Regions from separate parts of the Homo sapiens genome. Here region 2 is linked to region 1. Evidence: promoter capture Hi-C in human tissues and cell types (Jung and others, 2019). All regions are on one chromosome and are shown on one strand. The core of a region is centred on a gene start or on the middle of the fragment in contact, and the rest is flanking DNA. Distances in the headings are between cores, read along the strand shown. Region 1 holds the start of ZNF441 (zinc finger protein 441). Region 2 holds the start of ZNF799 (zinc finger protein 799).

Region 1 (5,536 bases), core at 13-2,512:
AGGCCGGTCTTGAGCTCCTGAGCTCAAGCAATCCACCCACCTCAGCCTCCCAAAGTGGTGGGATTGCAGGCATGAGCCACGGTGCCTGGCCTCATAATGCTTTTATATCTGGTATTCTTCATAAAAATATGAAGATGAATGTTTTCAAATTCAAAGTCTAATGTCTCAGCCTTTGATTGAAGCATTTAATTCAATAACATTTATAGGCTTGATGGAAGGAGCATTTCCACGCTGTGTTTAGGAGACAGGAGGGCAAATTGAACTCCCAGAGTTAAATCCATTAGTGCCCCTGACTCATCCCCAGGTTCTGATCCACCCTAGGGCTCCATTTCAGGAATTATCGTCTGGCCTCCAAGCTTTGGAATATGTTTGGCCTCCTGAAAGTGGTTGACTTGTGAACTGTGTGTGGATGCAGCAGGCTGCTTATCTGAGCTAGTTCAAGTTTTTGCTTTATAAAATATTGCCGCCATATAATTCCAGTTTTTCCACACATTTAACAATTTTATTTATTTCTTTTTTCTTTTTTCTTTTTTTTTTTTTTTGAGACGGAGTCTCCCTCTGTCTCGCCCACTCTCTCACTGCAGCCTCTGCCTTCCAGGTTCAAGTGATTCCTCTGTCTCAGCCTCCTGAGTAGCTGGGACTACAGGCGTGCGCCACCACATCCGGCTAATCTTTGTATTTTAGAGACGGGATTTCACCATGTTGGCCAGACTGGTCTCGAATTTCTGACCTCAGGTGATCCACCTGCCTCAGCCTCCCAAAGTGCTGGGATTACAGGTGTGAGCCACCACGCCCGGCTTTGTTGGGGTGTTTTTATATTCTGCACTGAAAATTAGTAGATTGAGACATAAGGTGGGAGAAAGGCTTGGCCTGTGCAGCCAACAGCCTCATCCAAAACTCCTGATTCCTGGAGGACATCAGCCCCTCCCTTCTGCTGCAGTGTGGCCTGGGCTCCCTTCCTGCTCTCAAATCAGGGGATAGCTCCACTGGACAGTGAGTCTGGAATTTCCTGCACAGACTTGTGGGTCCCTGTCCAAGAGGAAAAAGGAGGAAGGTCAGGACATACTGCCTAAATGCAAATGTCCCCTGGGAGGGGGTCAGGTCACAGCGCAGGGAGGAAGCTAGTCCTCTCAAGGCCTGTCTGGAATCTGTTTATCAGGTTCCACTCCGCTGCCCGAGATCGCTTCTTCCGTTACTCAGTGCCCGGGGGAGGGACCTGGCGCACTATCCAATCAGGGCCGCGGGGCGGGGTCGTGAGAACTGTCAATCAGGCGCACTGACCGGAGGAGGGTGCAAGGTTCAAAGAGCCCGCCGAGTCTTCTCCACGCCCCTGCACTGGGCTCCGGGTTCTGTCACTGAGAGACGCCCTGGAACGTCTGTGGCAGCTTCTGTCTCGCTGGGACCCGCACTGACAGCGGGAGGCAGAGGGAGGAACCTGGACGCCGGAAGCCGGGAAATGGTGAGTGTGTGAGGTCTGGTGTCCCGACGCGTGAGAGGAGAGACTGGTTGGAACCGGCCGGAACCGGCTGTGGTGGCACCAGGTCTTCCCCGCCGGCGACACCCTGGCGCAGCTCGGCCCTCGGTTCCCTCGGCCGCACGATGGGGCTGGGGCGGCAGCCGGGACCCCGGGCGTCCTGTCCCGTCCCTGCGCGGCCACTGCGGCCCTGGCCCTGGAGGCCTGTCTGGGCAGCTCCGCGCCCGCAGTCCTGCGTCTCCCCAGATTGTGCGGCTGTAACCGGCACAGGTTCGCGGCCCGAGTCACTGCACCGAGACGCCGAGGGCTGCAGCAGAAACAGTTTAATAGGGGGAGAGGGGAGGACACCCCAGATCCGCCTTCCTGAGAGGTTTGGGGATGGGGTGTTTAGGGGTGTGGACAGGGGCGGCTGGGGCGTGGGGTCGCTGGATGGTGGGGAAGTGAGGGGTGACTCTTGGGACTGGAGGTGAAGAAACCGCATTCTTCTGCTGAGTGGGTTCCCTTGTGGGGTCTTCAGCCTGGTTGGCGCCAGCCTTTCCGCTGGAATTCAGGATCTGAGAAAGAACTCAGGCGACTCTTGAGCAACTCTCAGAGATCTCATCCCCAAGCACAATGGCGAAGCCGGCGGTCAGCATCTGCTGTGGCCTGACTCTTGGGGAGGCGGCCCCGCGAGGCAGCGGGGCTGAGGGCACCTGGTTAATATCTAACTGCAATCTCGCCTCCAGCCTGGCTCGCAGTTCTGTGAACCCGGTGAGGAGGCTGCACGGTGATGACAGGTCACCAGGCAGACTCGTGTGTGGGGTTTGTGTGTGGGAGGAGTTGTGGTCTGTGTGGTCCCCTGTCCCTTCTTTCTTCCCAAGGGTGACCCGTTCGCCTTCGAGTCTTCCAAAGATGTGGGCAGCAGGGTCTCAAGTCCACCACTGTGTTCTCTCATCCTAACTCCTCCTAGGGCCGACAGAAAATCCCTTGGCTTCCAGAGCCTTCCTCAGGCTTTCTCTCCTCAATTCACAGCAACTTTATGAACTCCTTGTCCCCCAGTTTATTTTTCAAACAGAGGCTAGTATTTTAATTGTCATTTTGTTTATACATAGCAATATATGGCTCTTTGTAAAAGGTTTTGTGTTTGTGAACATTTCACATGAGAGGAAGCAGAGAAAAACCACCAGACATTTCGCTGTAAAAAAAATGAATATTAATAAATAAAATCTTTGTTACTGTCCTCCCTTCATCATCCCTAGACAGAGACACCTTTTGAGAATGTCTTTGGATTAAGTTTCCTCTTTGGAAACGTTACAGAGTGATGAGTCCCCAGCCCATCCTCTATGGTTTCCTGGTCCTGGGTTTCAGAGCTGCCTGGGGCCACCCCAAGATGCCCACAGCTGCCAAGTCTCTTGTAGTGTCAAGTGAATATCAGTCCCTTTGTCACTCCTCCCAGAGGACACCCTGAGGTGGAGATGGTGGGACCTTGTAGGGAAGCAGCATGATGCCCTGTAGTGGGAGGAGTCTCCTGGTATACCCTTCCTCAATAAGCTACTTCCTTAGAACACTCAGCTTTTCTTCCCCCATCCCTTCCTTGGGGATATATGGCTGGTCAGCCAATTGGATGGTGGTATTAAGGGGACAGGACTGAAATGATTCTTCCCTTCTGATGTTCTCAGACTAATGAAGGGAGAAAACTATCCCTAAGGACAGGAAAACCAACTCCACTGAGGTGGTGCAAGAACCTGAAAAGCTAACAATGTAGTGTCTCCTGGGATCATGGTTATTGAGCACTTCGGTGAGCAGCATGGTGATGGGGGATGTTCCAGGTGATAGGAGGACCTGACTTGACACACTCTGCACCCATAGGGAGGTGGTGAAAGGAGATGATGGTATAAGGGATGCATATGGATCAACCAAATTGAAGAACTGGGAGAAGATAGAGAACTAGAAACTGTGTCAAGGGTCATAAAACCCCTTTTTTGGTATGGAAAAACGAAACCACACTCAAAATGGAAGCTGAGGTAACAAACTGAGTAAAAATTAATGAAAACTGGAAAGTCTATAGTTAGTTGATCATTGTATATGGAGATGCTGGGCAGAAGATGGATTATTCTCCTGTAGGTAACCATTTGTCTCCATCATTTCTGTTGAAGTGTCCCTCATTTGTATCACTGCCTGGCAATACCTGCTGTGTCATAGGTTCTTGTACCTTAAGTAGATGCTCTTGTTCCAGAATTTGCCATTTTTCATTGGTTTATGTATCCATCAGTCTGCTAATATCATACTCTCCTGATTACTATAGTCTTCAAAGCCTTGATGTGTGGTAGAGAAAGACCCTTCCTAACTTAGTCCTTTGGGTTGCTATAACAAATTTACCATAGACTGCATGCCTTACACAACAGATATTCATTTCTCAAAGCTATAAAGGCTGAGAATTCAGTTTCAAGCAGCAGGTCAGTTGTCTACTAAAGGACTCTTTTTTTTTTTATTTTTTATTTTTGAGATGGAGTCTTGCTCTGTTGCCCAGGCTGGAGAACAGTGGCATGATCTCAGCTCACTGCAACCTCCGCCTCCTGGGTTCAAGTGATTCTCCTGCCTCAGCTTCCCAAGTAGCTGGGACTACAGGCACATGCCACCACCCCAGCTAATTTTTTGTATTTTTAGTAGAGACGGTGTTTCACCATGTTAGCCAAGATGGTCTCGATCTCCTGACCTCATGATCTGCCCACCTCGGCCTCCCAAAGTGCTGGGATTACAGGTGTGAGCCACCGTGCCCAGCCTGGGCCTCTTTCTTGATTTGCAGATGGCATTCTTCCTGTTATGCCCTCACATGGTGGAGATATGTCTGTAATGTCTGTCTAGTTTTGGTGTTAAGGCAGTTGTATTAGTCCATTTTCACACTGCTATAAAGAACTACCAGAAAAGAGGTTTAATTGACTCACAGTTCCTCATGGCTGGGGAGGCCTCAGGAAACTTACAATTGTGGCGGAAGGGGAAGCAGGCACTTCTTACATGGTGGCAGGCAAGACAGCATGTGAAAGAGGAACTGTCAAACACTTATAAAACCGTCAGATTTCATGAGAACCCACTATCACAAGAACAGCGTGGGGGAAACCGCCCCCATGATCCAGTCACCTCCCACAGGTCCTTCCCTTGATACATGGGGATTATGGGGATTACAGTTGAAGATTAGATTTGGGTGGTGACAAAGAGCCAAACCATATTATCAGTGTTGGCCTTACAACATGAATTAGAAAGTGTTCCCTCTGCTTGTATTTTCTGAAAGAGATTATAGAGAATTGGTGTCATTTCTTCCATAAGTGTTTTCCAGAATTCAACAGTGAAACCATGCTGGCCTGTTCCTTTTTCTTGGGACTTTTTGTTTGTTTGTTTGCTTGAAGTGGAGTTTTGCTTTGTTGTCCAGGCTAAAGTGCAGTATCATGATCTCACTGCAACTTCTGCTCCCTGGGATCAAGTGATCCTCCCACCTCAGCCTCCTGAGTGGCTGGAACTCCCACTACAGCCTCCTGAGTGGCTGGATGTGCCACCCCATCCTGCTAATTTTTTGTGTTTTCTGTAGAGATGGGGTTTCACCATGTTGCCGAGGCTGGTCTTGAACTCCTGGGCTCAAGCAGTCTGCTGATCTTGGCCTCCCAAAGTGCTGGGATTACATGTGTGAGCCACCACGCCTAGCCTACCACTGCACTATAGCCTGGGTGACAGAACAAAACTCTGTTTCAAAAAAAAAAAAAAAAATTGAATGCAATCTCTAGAAAGCAAAGATATATAACCAATGCTTAAAAACCTTCCACTTTAGGAAACTAAAGAAAGAATAGCAGGATACATGTAAATCGAGCAGAGGAAAATAACAATGAGAGAAGGTATTAATGAAATAGTAAGCAAGAAATCAGTAGAAAACATTAACAAACCAAAAGCTGGTTCCTTCAAAAGATCAATAAAATGAATAAGCCCATAGGCAAGCTAACTCAGAAGAAAGGGGGGTTATGATTACTCATCTTGTGTACATTAAAGGACCTCAAAGGAGTATTAGGAACAACTGCATGCCCACATAGTTGATAA
Region 2 (5,917 bases), core at 1,214-3,713, 630 kb after region 1:
AGTAGTTATACTACTAAGTCCTGAAATTCCATCTGAAATCATCCAAAAAACAAACACACCTGAGAAACATACTACACAAGCTCTGGGGCAAAAAAAATAAATAAAGGTTTTTAAAAAATGGAATAGAAGATTACATATACCATTTATATTCTGAAATCCAACTCTTTCTAGAATTACTTATACAATTTATTTTCTGAAGTCCAACTCTTTCCAACTTTGGGTATACTTTGTCTTCAAAGTATACAATAACAATCTCTAATCATAGGATGTATTTTAAGGTTAATCAAAAATTTAGGCTGAAAAGAGTAAACATATCTTTTCAAGCTAACAAACTCAGGAATCAGCAGTGCTGACTGGAACACAGAAAAGTCTAATGCAACAATCAGGGTGGGTCATCCTATCACCTGGGACATCCCTTAACCCTATTCTGGTCATCACCCTCCCAGGAGACACTGCCTTGTGTGCTTTTCAGGATCTTGCACTACCTCAACGGGCAGGTTCTCCAGTCCTTAGATATAACTTTCTACCTTTTAAGTCTGAGAGAGTCCAGAAGGCAAAAATCATTTCTGTTTTTTTTTCCTATGGAATATGACCATGAAATTGGCTGTTCAGTCATGTGTCTCCAAGGAATGGAAACTAGGGTTGGGAAGAAAAGGTGAGTGTCCCAGGAGTTAGCTTTTTACAGGAATTATATACCAGAAGATTCCTCCCATCCCAGTGGATCCAGTTGCTCCCCAGGGGGCCACACCCCCCATCTCAGGCTGTCCCCTGGGAGGAGTGACCCAGGGGATGATATTCACTAGACCCTCCAAGAGACTTGGCAGCTGTGGACACCCTTTTTTTTTTTTTTTTTTGAGACAGGGTCGGCCTCTGTTGCCTAGGCTGGGATGCAGAGGCACGATCATAGCTCACTGCAACTTCAAACTCCTGGGCTCCAGCCATCATCCCACCTCAGCCTCAGGAGTAGCTGCGACTACAGGTGCCAGCTACCAAGCCCAGCTAATTTTATTATTATCATTTATACTAGAGACAAGGTCTTGCCATGTTGCCCAGGCTGGTCTGGAACTACTAAGATTAAGCAATACCTCTGCCTTAGCCTCCCAAGGTGCTGGAATTACAGGAATGACCCACCGTGTTCAGGAACCCAAAATAATTCTTTCAAGAAAAAGCCATACATTGCTAGCTGAAAACAAGATGACAAACTAGTGAAATATCGCCTGGGGGCCAAACAGTTCATACCGTTGCTGTGAATTAAGGACAGAAGGTTAGCCTGGGGAAGTCTCTGGAAACCAAGAGATTTGCTGCCAGCCCTAGGAGGAGTCAGGATGAGAGAACACAGTGGTGGATTTGAGACCCTGCTAACCACATCTTTGGAAGACTCAGAGGGGAAACGGTCGCCCTTGGAAAGAAAGAAGGGACTGAGGACCACGGAGACCACAGCTCCTCCCACACACAAACCCCACACACGAGTCTGGATTCCACCTGGTGACTCGTCGTCACCGTGCAGCCTCCTCACCGGGTTCACAGGAACTGCGAGCCAGGCTGGAGGCGAGATTGCAGTTAGATATTAACCAGGTGCCCTCAGCCCCGCTGCCTCAAGGGGCCGCCTCCCTGAGAGTCAGGTCACAGCAGACGCTGACCGCCGGCTTCCCCATTGTGCCTGGGGATAAGATCTCTGAGAACTGCTCAAGAGTCGCCGGAGTTCTCAGATCCTGAATCCCAGCAAAGGCTGGCGCCAATCAGGTTGAAGTCCCAACGAGGGAGCCCATTCAGCAGAATGCGGTTTCTTCACCTCCTGTCCCAGGATTCACCCCTCACTTCCCCACCAACCAACGACCCTACACCCAGCCGCCCCCGTCCAGACCCCAAATCCCTCAGGGAGGCGGATCTGGGGTGTCCTCCCCTCTCTGGCTATTAAACTGTTTCTGCTGCAGCCCTCAGCGTCTCGGTGCAGTGAGTCGGGCCGCGAACCTGTGTTGCTTACAGCCGCACAATCTCGGGAGACGCGAGGCTGCGGGCGCGGAGCTGCCCAGAGAGGGCGCCGGGGCCGCAGTCGCCGCGCAGGAACGGGACAGGACGCCCGGGGTCCCGGCTGCATGCCCAGCCCCACCCTGCGGCCGAGGGCCGACCTACGCCAGGGGAACCCGGGTCCGTAGATCCCGGAGTAGCCCTTGGGGAGGCCCGGGTCCAGCCACAGCCGATTACTGCAGGTTCCACCCAGCCCCTCCCCCGCCTCGGGACGCCGGCCCAGCACACGCACCATTTCCCGACTTCCGCGGTGTCCCAGGTCCTCCGGACGGCTCCCGCTGCCAATGCGGGTTCCCGCGGGACACAGGCTGCCACGGAACTTCCAGGTCGTCTCTTAGCTACAGAGCCGAGCACCGAGCGCCCAGCGCAGGTGGGTGGAGAAGACGCCGCGGGCTTTTTCAACCACACACTCCTCTGGGAAGCGCGCCTGATTGACAGTTCCCACGAACCCGCCCCACGGCCCTTACTGGATACGGCGTCAGGTGCCGCCCCTCGTGGACTGATTGACAGAAGAAGCGATCTTGCACAGCTGAGTGGAGCCAGATGAGCAAGTTCCTGACACAGCCCTTGGCAGGGCGGGCTTCCTCCCTGCTCTTTGATCTGAATCCTCCCGAGGGATATTTGCACTTAAGCGGAATTTCCTGCCTGTACTCAATAGGACCTCCTGCTTCTTCCTCCTGTACACTGACTGACAAAACAATTATACTTTTTTTTTTTTTTTTTTTTTTTTTTCCGAGAGAGAGAGAGAGAGAGAGAGAGAGAGAGGGAGTCTTGCTCCGTGGCTCAGGCTAGAGTGCAATGGTGCGAGGCTCACTGCGACCTCCGCCTCCTAGGTGGGTTCAAACAATTCTGCCTCAGCCTCCCGAGTAGCTGGGATTACAGGTGCGCGCCACCACACCCGGCTAATTTTTGTATGTTTTAGTAGAGGCCGGGTTTCACCATGTTGGCCAGGCTGGTCTCGAACTCCTGACCTCGTGATCCGCCCACCTTGGCCTCCCAAAGTTCTGGGATTAGAGACGTGAGCCATCGCGCCTGGCTCCAATTATACTCTTTTTCAATGAAATTTTTCAAAATATTTCAATGTACAATTAAATTATTTTTTACTATAGTCACTCTGTTGTGCTAGCAAATACTAGGTCTTATTCATTCTTTGTAACTATTTTTTATACCTATTAACCATCCCCACTTCCCCCATAACTACTCCTCGCTACTACTTTTCCCAGCCTGTGGTAACCATCCTTCTACACGTTTTTGGTTGTTTGAGATGGGGTCTTGCTCTGTTGCCTAGGCTGGAGTGCAGTGGGGCCATCATGGCTCACTGCAACCTCTACCTCCCAAGCTCAAGCAATCCTCCCACCTCAGCCTCTCAAGTAGCTTCAGATTGTTCACTGTTGGCATATAAAAATGTTACTGATTTTTGTATGTTAATATTGTATCCTGCAACTTTACTGAATTTATTTCTCAGTTCTAATACTTTTTTGGTGGAGTCTTTAGGTATTTCCAGATATAAGATCATATTATATGCAAACCAGGATAATTTGACTTCTTCCTTTCCTTCCCAATATAGATGCCCTTTATTTCTTTTTTTTTTTTTTTTTGGACTTATTGCTCTAGCTGGGACTTCGAGTACTGTGCTGAACAACAGTGGTAAAAGTGGGCATTCTTATTGTGTTCCAGATCTTACAGGAAAGGCTTTCAGTTTTTCCTCATTCATTATCATGCTAGCTGTGGGTCTGCCATATATGGCTTTTATTATGTTAAGGTAGCTGCTTCTATACCCAGTTTTTTTTTAGGGTTTTTATCATGAAGGGATGTTAAATATTATCAAAAGCTTTTTCAGTGCACATTGAAATGATTATATGGTGTTTGCCCTTTATTCTGTTGAAATGATACATCACATTGATTGATTTGCATATATTGAACCATCCTTGCATCCCAGGGATAAAGCCCACTTGGTCATGATGAATGATCTTTTTGGTGTATTGTTAAATTCAGTTTGCTAGTATTGAGTTGAGGATTTTTGCATCAATATTCATCAGTGACACTGGCCTATAGTTTTCTTTTTCTGACATGTCTTTGTCTGGTTTTGGTGTCAAAGTAATATTGGCTTTGTAAAATAAGTTTGGAAGTATTGCCTTCTCCTCTGTTTTGGAATAGTTTGAGTAGGATTGGTATTAGTTCTTTTTTAAATGTTAGTAGAATTCAGCAGTGAAGCCACTGGGTTCTGGGGTTTTCTTTGCTAGCAGACTTTTTATTATGGCTTTGATCTCATTATTTGTTATTGGTCTGTTCAGGTTTTTTATTTCTTCATGGTTCAATGTTGCTATGTTCTATCTGCCTAGGAATTTATCAATTTCTTCTAGGTTTTCCAATTTATTGGCATATAGTTGTTCTTAGTTGCATTAATGATCCTTTGAATTTCTGCAGTATCAACTGTAATGTCTCCTTTTTCATCTCTAATTTTATTTATTTGGGCCTTTCTGTTTTTTTCTTAGTCTACCTCAAGGTTTGTCAGTTTTGTTTGTCTTTTCAAAAAACCAACTTTTTGTTTCATTGTTCTTTTCTATTGTTTCTTCATTTCAAATTCATTTATTTCTACTCTGATTTTTATTATTTCTTTTCTACTAATTTTGGGTTTGGTTTGCTCTTGCTTTTCTAATTCTTTAAAATGCATTCTTAGGTTGTTTATTTGAAGGTTTTCTTCTTCTTCTTCTTCTTCTTTTTTTTTTTGATGTGAGTTTTACTTCACTCTTGCAGCCTAGGCTGGAGTGCAATGGCGCAATCTCAGCTCACTGCCACCTCTGCCTCCTGGGTTCAAGCAATTCTCCTGCCTCAGCCTCCCAGGTAGCTGAGATTACAGGCACCCACCACCATGTCTGGTTAATTTTTTGTATTTTTAGTAGACAGGGTTCCACCATGTTGGCCAGGCTGGTCTTGAACTCCTAAGCTCAGGTGATCCACTCACCTCGGCCTCCCAAAGTGCTGGGATTACAGGTGGGAGCCACCGCACCCAGCCTGCAGGTCTTCTTCTTTTTTGATGTAGGTGCTTATATCTATAAACTTCCCTCTTAGTACTGCTTTTGCTGTATTCCATAGGTTTTGGTATGTTGCATTTTCATTATCATTTGTTTCAAGCAACTTTACAATTTCCTTCTTAATTTCTCCACTGACCAATTGGTCATTCAGAAGCAGATTATTTAATTTCCATATGTTTGTATGGTTTCCAGAATTCCTCTTGTCATTGATTTCTAGTTTATTCCATGTATTCTATGACACAATTTAAATTATTTCAATTTTTTTGGAGAGTTTTAAGACATGCTTTTTGAACTAACATATGGTCTATCCTTGAGAATGATGCATGTGCTCGGGAAAAATATGTGTATTCTGTAGCTGTTGGATAAAATGTTCTGTAAATATCTATTAGATCCATTTGATCTATAGTGTAGATTAAATCCCATTTAATCTTTCTTTTGTCTGATTTTTCAGTATATATTGAGATAATCTTTGTCGATTTACTGTCTGGAAGATCTGTCCTGTGCTGAAAACGGGGTGTTAAAATCTCCAGCTATTATTGTATTGGTCTCTCTCTCTTTTATTTTTATTTTTATTTTTTTTTGAGACAGAGTTTCACTCTTGTTGCCCACGCTGGAGCGCAATGTTGCAATCTTGGCTTACTGTAGCCTCCTCCACCTCCCAGGTTCAAGCAGTTCTCCTGCCTGCTGGGATTACAGGCGTGAGCCACCATGCCCGGCCCTCAGTGCCAGTCTTAAAGACAGCAGCCCGAGATCCCAGTATAAAATCCTACTCACTCAATTATCACCTTTGTATTTTCGAATTGGTATGGGGACTTTCCAAAGGTCTGAAACAAGGCTCTCTGTTCTATATCATC

The links. Contacts are between HindIII fragments. The study calls those that stand out against the background at their distance.
Region 2: the fragment with the promoter of ZNF799 here is called in contact with the fragment with the promoter of ZNF441 in region 1 in 2 of the 25 tissues and cell types used here (hippocampus and mesenchymal stem cells).

What each region holds. Positions count from the first base shown.
Region 1 is chr19:11,765,738-11,771,273 of GRCh38, forward strand. It overlaps ZNF441 (zinc finger protein 441), which reads left to right and starts at 1,263. Exons shown (of 4, transcript NM_152355.3): 1 at 1,263-1,459. The coding sequence starts at 1,457. RefSeq lists an enhancer at 1,424-1,523 and silencers at 1,594-1,733, 2,184-2,293. The HindIII fragment of the contact is 15,674 bases long and covers 1-5,536 here.
Region 2 is chr19:12,398,808-12,404,724 of GRCh38, forward strand. It overlaps ZNF799 (zinc finger protein 799), which reads right to left and starts at 2,464. Exons shown (of 4, transcript NM_001080821.3): 1 at 2,261-2,464. The coding sequence starts at 2,263. RefSeq lists enhancers at 1,759-1,848, 2,569-2,618 and a silencer at 2,079-2,238. The HindIII fragment of the contact is 18,323 bases long and covers 1-5,917 here.